Regions from separate parts of the Homo sapiens genome. Here region 2 is linked to region 1. The links are contacts of gene promoters, found by promoter capture Hi-C in blood cells and fetal thymus (Javierre and others, 2016). All regions are on one chromosome and are shown on one strand. Each heading gives the region's core, a stretch centred on a gene start or on the middle of the fragment in contact. The rest is flanking DNA. Distances are from core to core; before and after follow the strand shown.

Region 1 (5,075 bases), core at 114-2,613:
TACTGAGAGGACAATGACTGGCAGAATAGACTTCTGGGCCAGGAAGGGAGGCATAGGGAAGACAGTATTGATGGGGACTGGGACTGACCAAGTCCCAATCCCTCCAGGGAGGCACGGAAGCCTGTTTGAGCTGAGTTAAGACAGTGGCCATCCTGTCTTCTGGGGCTAAGCAGCCAGCCCAAGAGCAAAGGGAGAGGGGAACAAACCTGTCATCCCTTGGGGTGAGTCGGGAAGGGACACAATTCATTGACCTAAGAAGAGGGTGGCCTTTCTAGAGGGACAAGAGGAGGCAGTGATGAGGATGGAGTGACCATCCCATGAGTCCCATCTCAAGGGGGCTACTGGAGATAATGATTGGTCACTCATGGGGTCTATGGGGATGGAAATAGATAGCCCCTAAAGCTAAGGGGGAAAGGGATAGCACTGCAAGCTCAATAGGGGTGGGAACAGGCCTATTTTTGCTAAGGACAGGAGCATCATTCCAGGACCGATGGGAAAGGGTGGCCTGTTTCCCATGGGCAGAGAGAGGGGGCTGCCAACCCTCAGGACAAAAGAGATGGAGAAGCCATTCCAACAGGCCACTGAAGACAAAACCTGTTATCTCCCTGGCAGATGGGGCAGAGTGGTCTTGCCCCTGGCTAAGGGGAAGGAGCAAACATCCCACGGAGTGAAAGAGGTAAGGGCGGCCATCACTAGGGGCCTAGGAATGGGGAACAGGCCTATCCTTGTTAAAGGAACTCAGAGATCATTGCAGTTGATGGGGAGGGAGCAGTCTGTTTCCCACTGCCAGGGAGAAGGGGCGGCCGTCTCTGTAGGAAATGGAGAGATCATCCCAAGGGACCAATGGGGATAAGATCAGTTACCCTTCGGGACGATGAGATGGAGCGGACATCTTCCAGAACTGAGCGGGGAGGAGACAGCCACTTCAAGGGAAGGGGATGGGCAGAGGGCCTGTTCTCGCGGAGATGACAGGGCAGCTATCTTCTGGGGCCGATAGGGAAGGGGAGGACGGTCCCCCAAGCTAAAGGGACAGAGTGGCCCAAAGGAGGAACCGTTACCCAGAGCTAGAAGGTCCCGGGATCGGGAGGGCGGGTCGTTTCCGCCAGGCTGGAGGGGCCGGGCTAGCTATCTGACAGCCCCTCCCCAAAGCTCAGGACCGCGAGGGCGGGGCCTGTCCAGAGCTAGGCCTGAGGGCGGCTTCCTCTCACCTCCAGGGGCAGCGACTCCGCCATCGCATCCCTGCCGCCTCCGCCCCCACTGCGCAAGGCTTTCTGGGAAATGTAGTCTCGCCTCTTTGGGGCGGGGCTTGGGAAGGAAGTGAGACCTATTTCCGTCGCAAAAGCTGACGACTTCGGTCTGCGCCGGAAGTGCATGAGCTGCCGATGTGGTGCTTAGTGATTGCGGTTTCGGTCGCTCTCCCGTGTTTCCCGGGCTGGGTATTTGCCTCGCACCATGGCGGTAAGGAGGATGGATAGGGCGGGGTCCGCACCAGCAAAGCTCTCCAGGGGCTGTGAGAGTGAAAACTGAGAAAGAACATTAAGGGATATGGGGTGGGCCAGAGCGGGGCGCCATCCCTGGCCAGACCGTGCTAGAGCTGGGCTGGGGGGATGGCGGCGCAGGACCATACCAGGACTAGTGCCAGAGCGGGGTGGGCATCAGTACCAGGGCAGGCCAGAGATCTAAGTGACCTGAGGTGGGGGTTAACCCAGATCGGGACTACGCCAGCGGAGGCCTGAGAGAGGCACCATTCAACTCCGCTCAGGAGTACCCTTGGAAGAGTCGTTAGCCTAAAGCCAGACTACCACGGGATCCAGAGGCGGTATTAGCTTAGGATTGAATTGTTCCAGGGCGAGCAAGAGGCGATTGATCCTAGCTGCGGGTGCTGGAGAGATGGCGTCAGCCCTAGGCAGAATGGACTGGAGGATGGGTGGACATCCCAGGGATTTTGCTAGGTTTCTGCACTACGGGGACCTGGCTGAGTTGCGGATGGAGCTCTATAGCTCACCAGGCTGGTGGGGAGAATGAGGAGGACCGTGGCCTCCTGACGGCATCTCATCATTCCTCTGCAGCCCAAGGGCAAAGTGGGCACGAGAGGGAAGAAGCAGATATTTGAAGAGAACAGAGAGACTCTGAAGTTCTACCTGCGGATCATACTGGGGGCCAATGTAAGTGCCTACCTCCTTGCTTCTATGCCCACTTATAGTCAGTTCCCTAGTCCTCAGCCCTGCTTGGTGACGAGGAGTGGTACCCGAAAAAGCTCTAGAAGAGAGCTCCAGTCAAAAAGAAATGAGAGATCTGGGCACAGAGAAAGTGCTAACTAGTAAAACACAAAGAAAATGAAGGCGTGAGTCGTAGCTGAATTTGAGAGCTCTTCCTACCTCCAAGTACACAAAGGCTTCTTTCCTGGGCTGAGTTGGGTGTCAGAGGAGAGTGGGTATTTGGGATTCAGGGAGCAGGGCCCTTTCTTCAACCCTGTAAGAACAACCTTGCTCCTCCCACAGCCTGGCCTAATTCTTGGTCAGAGTTGAGGGAGACCCATGGTTTGGAGGTAACTTCTGACCCCAACCTGATCCTGTGATTGCTTGCAGGCCATTTACTGCCTTGTGACGTTGGTCTTCTTTTACTCATCTGCCTCATTTTGGGCCTGGGTAAGTATCTCCATCCTGGGAGGTGGATGAGTGCGTAGGGTCAGTGGCTGGCCTTTGATACCCTCATTCTTGCTCTGCAGTTGGCCCTGGGCTTTAGTCTGGCAGTGTATGGGGCCAGCTACCACTCTATGAGCTCGATGGCACGAGCAGCGTTCTCTGAGGATGGGGCCCTGATGGATGGTGGCATGGACCTCAACATGGAGCAGGGCATGGCAGAGTGAGTGTCCCCCACCGCCAGCCCAGGTGAGCGGCCCCAGGGCTGGGGCCCAGATAGCCCAAGAAGCACAGCTACTTGTAACTTGAAAAGGGTGGAAGGGAGTTGCAACTTGAAAAGGGTGGAAGGGCCCATATGCTGTCTTTCCAGCTTTATTTCTATCCACAGGCACCTTAAGGATGTGATCCTACTGACAGCCATCGTGCAGGTGCTCAGCTGCTTCTCTCTCTATGTCTGGTCCTTCTGGCTTCTGGTATGTGGGCTGGGGGCGCTCCCAAGAAGGGGCATCTAACCCTCCCCATCTTTTATTCCCTGCATCTTGCTTCAAGTTACCGTTTCTCTTGTAGGCTCCAGGCCGGGCCCTTTACCTCCTGTGGGTGAATGTGCTGGGCCCCTGGTTCACTGCAGACAGTGGCACCCCAGCACCAGAGCACAATGAGAAACGGCAGCGCCGACAGGAGCGGCGGCAGATGAAGCGGTTATAGCCATTGACATTGTGGCCACAGGCCACTGGCCCTGGGTGGCTCTGTCAGGGTGCACAGCCCCTCATGCCTGGAGCAATGAGGGTCTAGTCCAGGGGCCAAAAGCAGTCTGAGGTATTGGGTATACTTATACTCTATAGGGTCGTTGAATAAATGGCTTAGAATGTGGCTGATGGCTGTGTGGGTGATGAGGGATGAGGCAGGAAAAGCTGGTCCTATGGGATTTCCCTCCTGCTACAAACCCAGCCTGGTGGGGACCCTGAAAGAAGAGAAACCTGTTGGATTAGCTAAGAAAATTTTATTTTGCTCCGTGCGTTCAAGGAGCTCACACACATGCACATGCATATGCATGCACACACACACATACACACACACTCACATGCATACACACACGGCTAATACTGCTCAAGGCATGGCTCCTGGGCACAGAGTTCTGGGGCCAGAATTCTGCTCTGGGCCCTCCTCACTCTGTCATCTCCTGCACTGCAGTCCAGGGTCCAGATAGATTTCCGGGATACAGCACCTTCACACCTCCAGGCCAGGACCCTTGCTTAGTCCCAGTGCCTGCACCAGGTCATCTCCGAGCCCACTCTTCAACGTCCTTCTCACTGCAGGGACAGAGCAGGGTTGGAGGGGGTTGATGGGGTTCAGGTGGGCAGTGGGATTGTGGGGGGTTACTTACAAGACTTGCGGTTGCCGCGGGAACGCTTGCGTTCCCTAGCAGCTAAGGCACGAGGACTGCTCTTGGTCACTGACTGCACCAGAAGGTCCATGATCTCATCTGATGTATCACTGGGTAAACTGGAGCCTGGGGGTTCTTCTGGGGATGCAGTGGAGGGCCCCACTGTGGGCATGATTGGGGAGCTGCTCTGGACCATGCCTGAGGAAGGCCAGATAGCAAAGTCAGGCCAAGGTGGCACTGGAGCCCATTCCCCACAGCTGCTATGGGCCTCACCTCTGCTGCGGCGATTGTGTGTGGTGTCCTCAGGCCTGCTGGTCAGCAGACTCTTCATACTAGCATGACTGTCAGCATCTCCCCGGCCTGGCCCGCTGCTCACTGCTACTGGGACAGAGGGGTTGCTGGGGGCTTCCCCAGCCACACCTGAGAACTTCTCTGTCTGGAGAAAGAAGAAGGGTGAGCTGGGAGGAGCGAAGGAAACCAAGGAGGTGGCAGTCAAGACTAAGACCTGGAAGGGCACCCACCTCGGTGATCATGCGTCCCCGGGTCTTGTTGCGCTCACGGTATGTGGCCTGCTTCTGCTGCTGCTGTAGCACTCGTTCCCGGCAAGTCCGATACTCAAGCGCAAATTCCCGCAGCGTGTGGCAGAACTGCATGATGCGCACTTCACGGGCCGCCTGCGGGGTGTAGCCCAGGTAGAGCAGGAAGGCATGGAACCTAGGCAGGTCAGAGTAGGGAGGGACAGTAAGTCCTGCTTATTGTCTGAGGGAGGGTGGTGGCCGTCCTGCCTCTCTTGGGTCCATGCCCCTACCTATTGCAGACACGGCGGTGCACTATCCTTAGCATGGCAACACGGCGGGCACACTGGTCCAGGAAGTGGGTGAGGCGGGCACGCAGGGCTGGGGCCAGCTCATGCTTGGCCAAGCTCCGCAGGCTCTCCTCGGCTGCCCGGCTCCGGCGCTCCAGCTGCCCCAGGTTCTCAGTCAGCTGTTCAAAGTCCACCTGAGAAAGCAAGGGGGTGCACATACTGTCCCCCCACACCCTGTAGACAA
Region 2 (4,695 bases), core at 1,703-4,202, 170 kb after region 1:
TTGCTCTTCCCCTTGAATCTCTTGGTCGCCAGCTCTTCCAGGGCCTTCTTGAACTCCTCATAGTTGATGACCCGAGCAGACTTCCCCCTGACAGGCATGTGGGCACCATGAGGGTTCCCCTTTCTTTTTTCTCCCCCAGGGGAAAGCTCAAACACATTTGCTGCCACCACAAATTATGCAATTGCGTTTCTTTCCCACGTTTGGGGAAGTCGCAGGGGTCAGCAACTCTGGAGGGCAATAGATATAAGGTTTGCCCTGGAAGAACGACCTTCGTGATCATGGTGTTTCCCTGACCCCTTCTTGATGTCCTCCCTGGTTCCAGCCCCCCAGTTCCCCACCTCCTGGGAACATGAGAAGCAGGGGCTGCTTAGGGCTCACTTGACTTTGGAGAAGACGATGTCCACATCGGTCCCTGTCACGGACTTTCCGTCAGCCACCTTGCAGTCCTTGCACAGCTTGGCCCAGTTCTTGCCATTCATCTCTTGCCCACTGGCCTTGGGGTCACCATGGATGGCAAACTTGCGGAAGCTCTCCTCCAGCCCAGCCATGTCTGTGCTCGCTGCCATGCCACCCTATAGAGACCCACCTGGGTCATCTCCCAGCCAATCTGCCCTTCCCCTCCCCCAAGCCCAGAACATCCCAGCCTCTACCTCAAACCTGCAAGACCTGGGCAGGTTCTGCTACAGAGTTGGTGCTGGAGCTGCCTGGGGAGAGGGGCCCGTCACTGTCGCCCTGGGCCACAGAGCCCCAAGGAAGAGCCCCGGGAGGCACGGTCTTGTCACTAATGCCAGCCCTGGCTCTCAGCAGGGTTCAGCAGATGAAATAATGATGCCCACAGGGAACAGAGTGGCACTGTCCAGAAAGACTGTTAGGGCAGCAGCTGGGGCCCTGGCTTTGTCTGGCCCTGGCACAAGGCCTTGCTTGGGTGGAAGTGAGGGTGGCAGAGCAGGCCCCCTCCCTGGAAGCTCCATGCCAAGCTGGCTTGGGGCCAGGCCAGGCTGCTGGTCGGGCAGGCATTCAGTGAGGACAGCATCTCTGTAAGGGTCATGAGGACCCAGCAAGAGCCAGTCTGGGCACGGGTGCATGCCCTGGGCAGGGGTGCAGCTGGTCCAGCAAGGCCTTGTTACTATTTGCTGTTAAACAAAAACATGAGGGGAGCTTGGGGCTGGCCTGGCCACAGTTTGTGAAGCCTGGAGACGGTTGCTAAGGGAGGGTGGTGCTGCTTGGAGAATGTTGCTAAGGGCAGGATGGTGTCAGGGCAGCTCAGGGAGAAGCTCCCAGTGCTGAGGGGCTGGGCTGGGCTGGGAAGCTGGGGCCCACGGGTGGGGCACGCCAGCACTCCCTGCGCCTAGGGCATAACCGTGGCTTCCTGGCCCCTTGCCACCGACTGGTGCTGTAACCTCCCACTGTGGAGTTTTGGGGGAGCAGGAGGTTGGGGGCTAGTAGCGTGGGGGCTGTAGAGTTACGAACCCCAAGAGTCGTGCTGGCAAGTGGGGCTGTGGCTGAAACACACTTCATCATGTCTACACCTCAGACCTCCCCTGGCCACGCCCTGAACTTGGCCACACCAGCCCACATTCCCAGCGACCCTGTGCACTCAGCCCTGGCCTGCCACCCCCTGGGCCTTGTACCCCTGGCCATACCTTCAGCCCTCCATCCTCCATCTTCACACCCACAGCCACAGCCCTCGGCCACCAGCCCCCACATATATACTAACAAGCCTGCGCCAACCCCAGTAATACCCACAGTCCAGCACTAAAGTGCCCCCCACACCCACAGCCCTCCGCTGCAGACCCCTGGCCACACCCTGAGCCTACACAGCAGCCTTCTCCATCCCCACACCCGCAGCCCTGGGGCTGAGGCCCCTGGCCACAAACCTGCATCCCTTCCTGAGACCCCTGACCATAGCCTCAGCCACTCACCCCCTCCAATACCCGCAGCCCTTTATCAAGGCGCCCTGACCCTCAGCACCCCTTTGTCCACACACCCTCAGCCCTCTGGCCACACCCTCAGCCTGCACTGAAGGCCCCAGTCCACATCCACACACTAACATTATAAGACTCCCAGGTACTATGCGGAGATCCCCTGCGTAGAGACCTCCCCACCACATCCCCCTCCTCCACTGCCACCTCCTGACCACACCCTCGGTCTCAGCAACCATCTTCTAGCTCTGCCTTTTACACTAGGGCTTCCAGTGACCACGGCCTGGGCTCTGCCCGGCTGCCCCATCTTCCACCAAAAACTCCTCGCCAGTGACCACACTCCCATCCCTAAGTGGCAGTTTCTGGGACTGTGAGCACCGGTGGTTCCTACGTTACAGGGACCATAACCCCAGTCCACGCTGCACTCCCCTTCCCTTTCCCTGGGTGCAACCTCCCACCAGGGACCCCAAGACCCGCACTTGGTTCACCAAGGGTAACGTCCAGGGGAGCTTGGATGCCACAGGGTGCTTGGCCCAAGCACTGGGCGGATCCTGCGTGCAGTGCTCACTCCTGTCCGTGGAAAGATGGATTCTTGGTCATCTCAGCGCGGTCAGGTGGCGCTGGGTTGCAGGCCGCAGCCCCATGGGTCTGCAGGCCATGGATGGAGTGGCCACACCCGTGAACTGGAGCCACCCGTCCCGCTCCCACTGGGACAGCTGGAGTCATCAATCAGCCGGACCAGGAGGTGGGGGCTGCGAGGTGGAATGCTTGGGGCCAGGGCAGGGCCGCTCAGCTGGCTCCTCGGCTGGGACCGCCGGAGGTTGGGACCCTTTCCAGGCTGCTCCCCCCAACCCTCATCGTGCAGGATACTGATTGGGGTGGCGGGCATCTGGGTCTCCTATGGGCTTCTACCTCGCGGCTGCTCCTGAAGTGTGCGTTCGGAAGGACAGAACGACGCAGGAATGGACCGATGGACGCGGGAGACCAGGCGGCTCCGCAGCTCCGCTCCCTGCCGGCTCCCGGGTGGGACTGCAGCCCAGGCGGCTCCGCCGTATTATCCCCTGTTTCTCGGTCTCCATAGAGACGGCGAGTCCCACCCCCGAGGCTGTCTCGGCGGGAGAGTGACCAAGGTCACGCCGGCCCCGCCCACGAGGCCCCGCCCTCCCCGAGACTCTCCGGGAGCCGCATCCCGCCCCTCCCCCGCAACTCCGCGGTCCTCGCGACGGCGAGACCAGCGCTCTGCAGTTCGGGGCGTCTTCGGACGGCCCCCTGAGGAAACAGCCTCCCATCCTGGGATGTGCCTAAAGCTCTAAGCGGCCCCAATCTCCAGAAGAGATCCAGCTCCCCAGAGAGTCAACCAGAGGCCACTGGGGAGCTGCGCGGGGCATTGGTGGGGCTTGGGGAATCGGGAAGGAGCTCTCCCTCAGTGACAGGGGTATACGGTTGACTCAAGAGCACTGCCATCCACTGAACGGATGGCACCCCCAGGCCACAACTCCCGTGCTCTCTTGGGTAGGATTCAGAGCCTGGAGCAGTGGGGAAGAAGGGAGGGGACTCCCTACGAGCGAATCGCGCTCGCCCAGCCCCAGGATGCTGGCATTCGACGGCAGCCCTGCTGCCGGGGAAAAGCTGCGGGACCTCCTGGCTCGGCCCCCTCCTTTCGCCGCCACCTCCCCACGGCCTCGCAGCCTCAGCGCCCACTGCTGCTTTCGGAGCCCAAAGCCTGCTTTCTCTCGGCCTCCCAGTGCAAAGCCCATCTTTAAGAAAAATAACCTCCTCCAGGCCGCCTTCTAAGGCCTTTCCTAACCACGAGCCGCACGTGAGCACCTCCACAGGGCAGCCTGGGTGGCTACCTACTATACAGGGACCTCCTCCCCGCCCCCGGTCCACTGGCCAGGGTCGGGCTTCTGGATGGCCCGTGGCCCCTGCCATTAAGAAAGTAAGCGCGACGTCCGCAAAAGCATAAAAAAGTTTATTGGAGCATCACAGCCGGTGGGGCGGGTATTGCTGAGTCGTGGGGGAGGGAGGCCGATCCCGCCGGCCGTAGGGGCCCCTAAAGTGCACTCGGTGCGGCAAGGATGGGGTGTTGCATAGAGAGTCAGGCCGGCCGCTCTAACTCGGCCCTCCGGCCTCTCGGCCCAGCTAAGCCAGACCAGCCTCCCGGCCGCCCGGCGCCCTGGGCTCGCCGCTGCTCGGGCTCACGAAAACGGCGGGCGCACGCGCCTGCCGCGCCAGCGTGGGCTGTCGGCCCCGGCCCCGCGGGGCGGCCAGAGCGGCGCTGCCCAGGCGCGTCTGCGCCACTGGAATCTCGTCCACGGACTCTGCCGACGCCGAGTGGTAGGCGCCGGCAGGGCCAGCGGCGTGCACAGGGCTGGCGTCCGCGGAATCCGTCGACGAGCTGGAGCGGCGGCTGGGGGCCCTAGGCCCTGCGCAAGGGAAGGGAACATGAGCCCAGTGGCTGCGGCTCGCTTGTGGCTCTGCCTTCCCCTCCCTCGAGTTCCCAGAGCAGGACCCGGACAGGGAGAGGCGCTCACCCGACGCCGGATCCGAGGTCTCAGACGTTCGCACTTTATACACGCGCCTCTTCCTCTTTTTCTGCAGAGACACGGGGGAGCCTGAGGGCCCCACATCGCCAAAAGAAGCAGAGGCGAGCGCCAGGGTAGAGGCTTCTTTCTATCCCACTCCACCTGGACCGGAGGCCCAGCACAGTCCCTCCTACCTGGGGTCGGATCCGGGGAGGCAGGGCGAGAGTGTCTGGGGAAGAGGGTGGTGG

Evidence for each region. The method cuts DNA at HindIII sites, captures the fragments that hold promoters and counts their contacts. A CHiCAGO score of 5 or more calls a contact.
Region 2: the fragment with the promoter of TPPP3 here is called in contact with the fragment with the promoter of TMEM208 in region 1 in 1 of 17 cell types (endothelial precursors); the score reaches 5.7 in endothelial precursors.

The regions. Positions count from the first base shown.
Region 1 is chr16:67,225,767-67,230,841 of GRCh38, forward strand. It overlaps TMEM208 (transmembrane protein 208), which reads left to right and starts at 1,364. Exons shown (of 6, transcript NM_014187.4): 1 at 1,364-1,458; 2 at 2,070-2,165; 3 at 2,589-2,648; 4 at 2,729-2,865; 5 at 3,031-3,115; 6 at 3,210-3,512. The coding sequence starts at 1,453. The coding sequence ends at 3,347. It overlaps FHOD1 (formin homology 2 domain containing 1), which reads right to left. Exons shown (of 22, transcript NM_013241.3): 18 at 4,835-5,025; 19 at 4,548-4,740; 20 at 4,300-4,462; 21 at 4,027-4,224; 22 at 3,623-3,952. The coding sequence ends at 3,870. It also overlaps the pseudogene FBXL9P. RefSeq lists an enhancer at 1,167-1,516. The HindIII fragment of the contact is 11,037 bases long and covers 1-5,075 here.
Region 2 is chr16:67,390,546-67,395,240 of GRCh38, forward strand. It overlaps TPPP3 (tubulin polymerization promoting protein family member 3), which reads right to left and starts at 2,953. Exons shown (of 4, transcript NM_015964.4): 1 at 2,835-2,953; 2 at 379-572; 3 at 1-87. The coding sequence starts at 566. ZDHHC1 (zDHHC palmitoyltransferase 1) reads right to left here. Exons shown (of 12, transcript NM_001323627.2): 10 at 4,642-4,695; 11 at 4,457-4,517; 12 at 3,607-4,348. The coding sequence ends at 4,065. It also overlaps the pseudogene RNU1-123P. The HindIII fragment of the contact is 5,780 bases long and covers 1-4,695 here.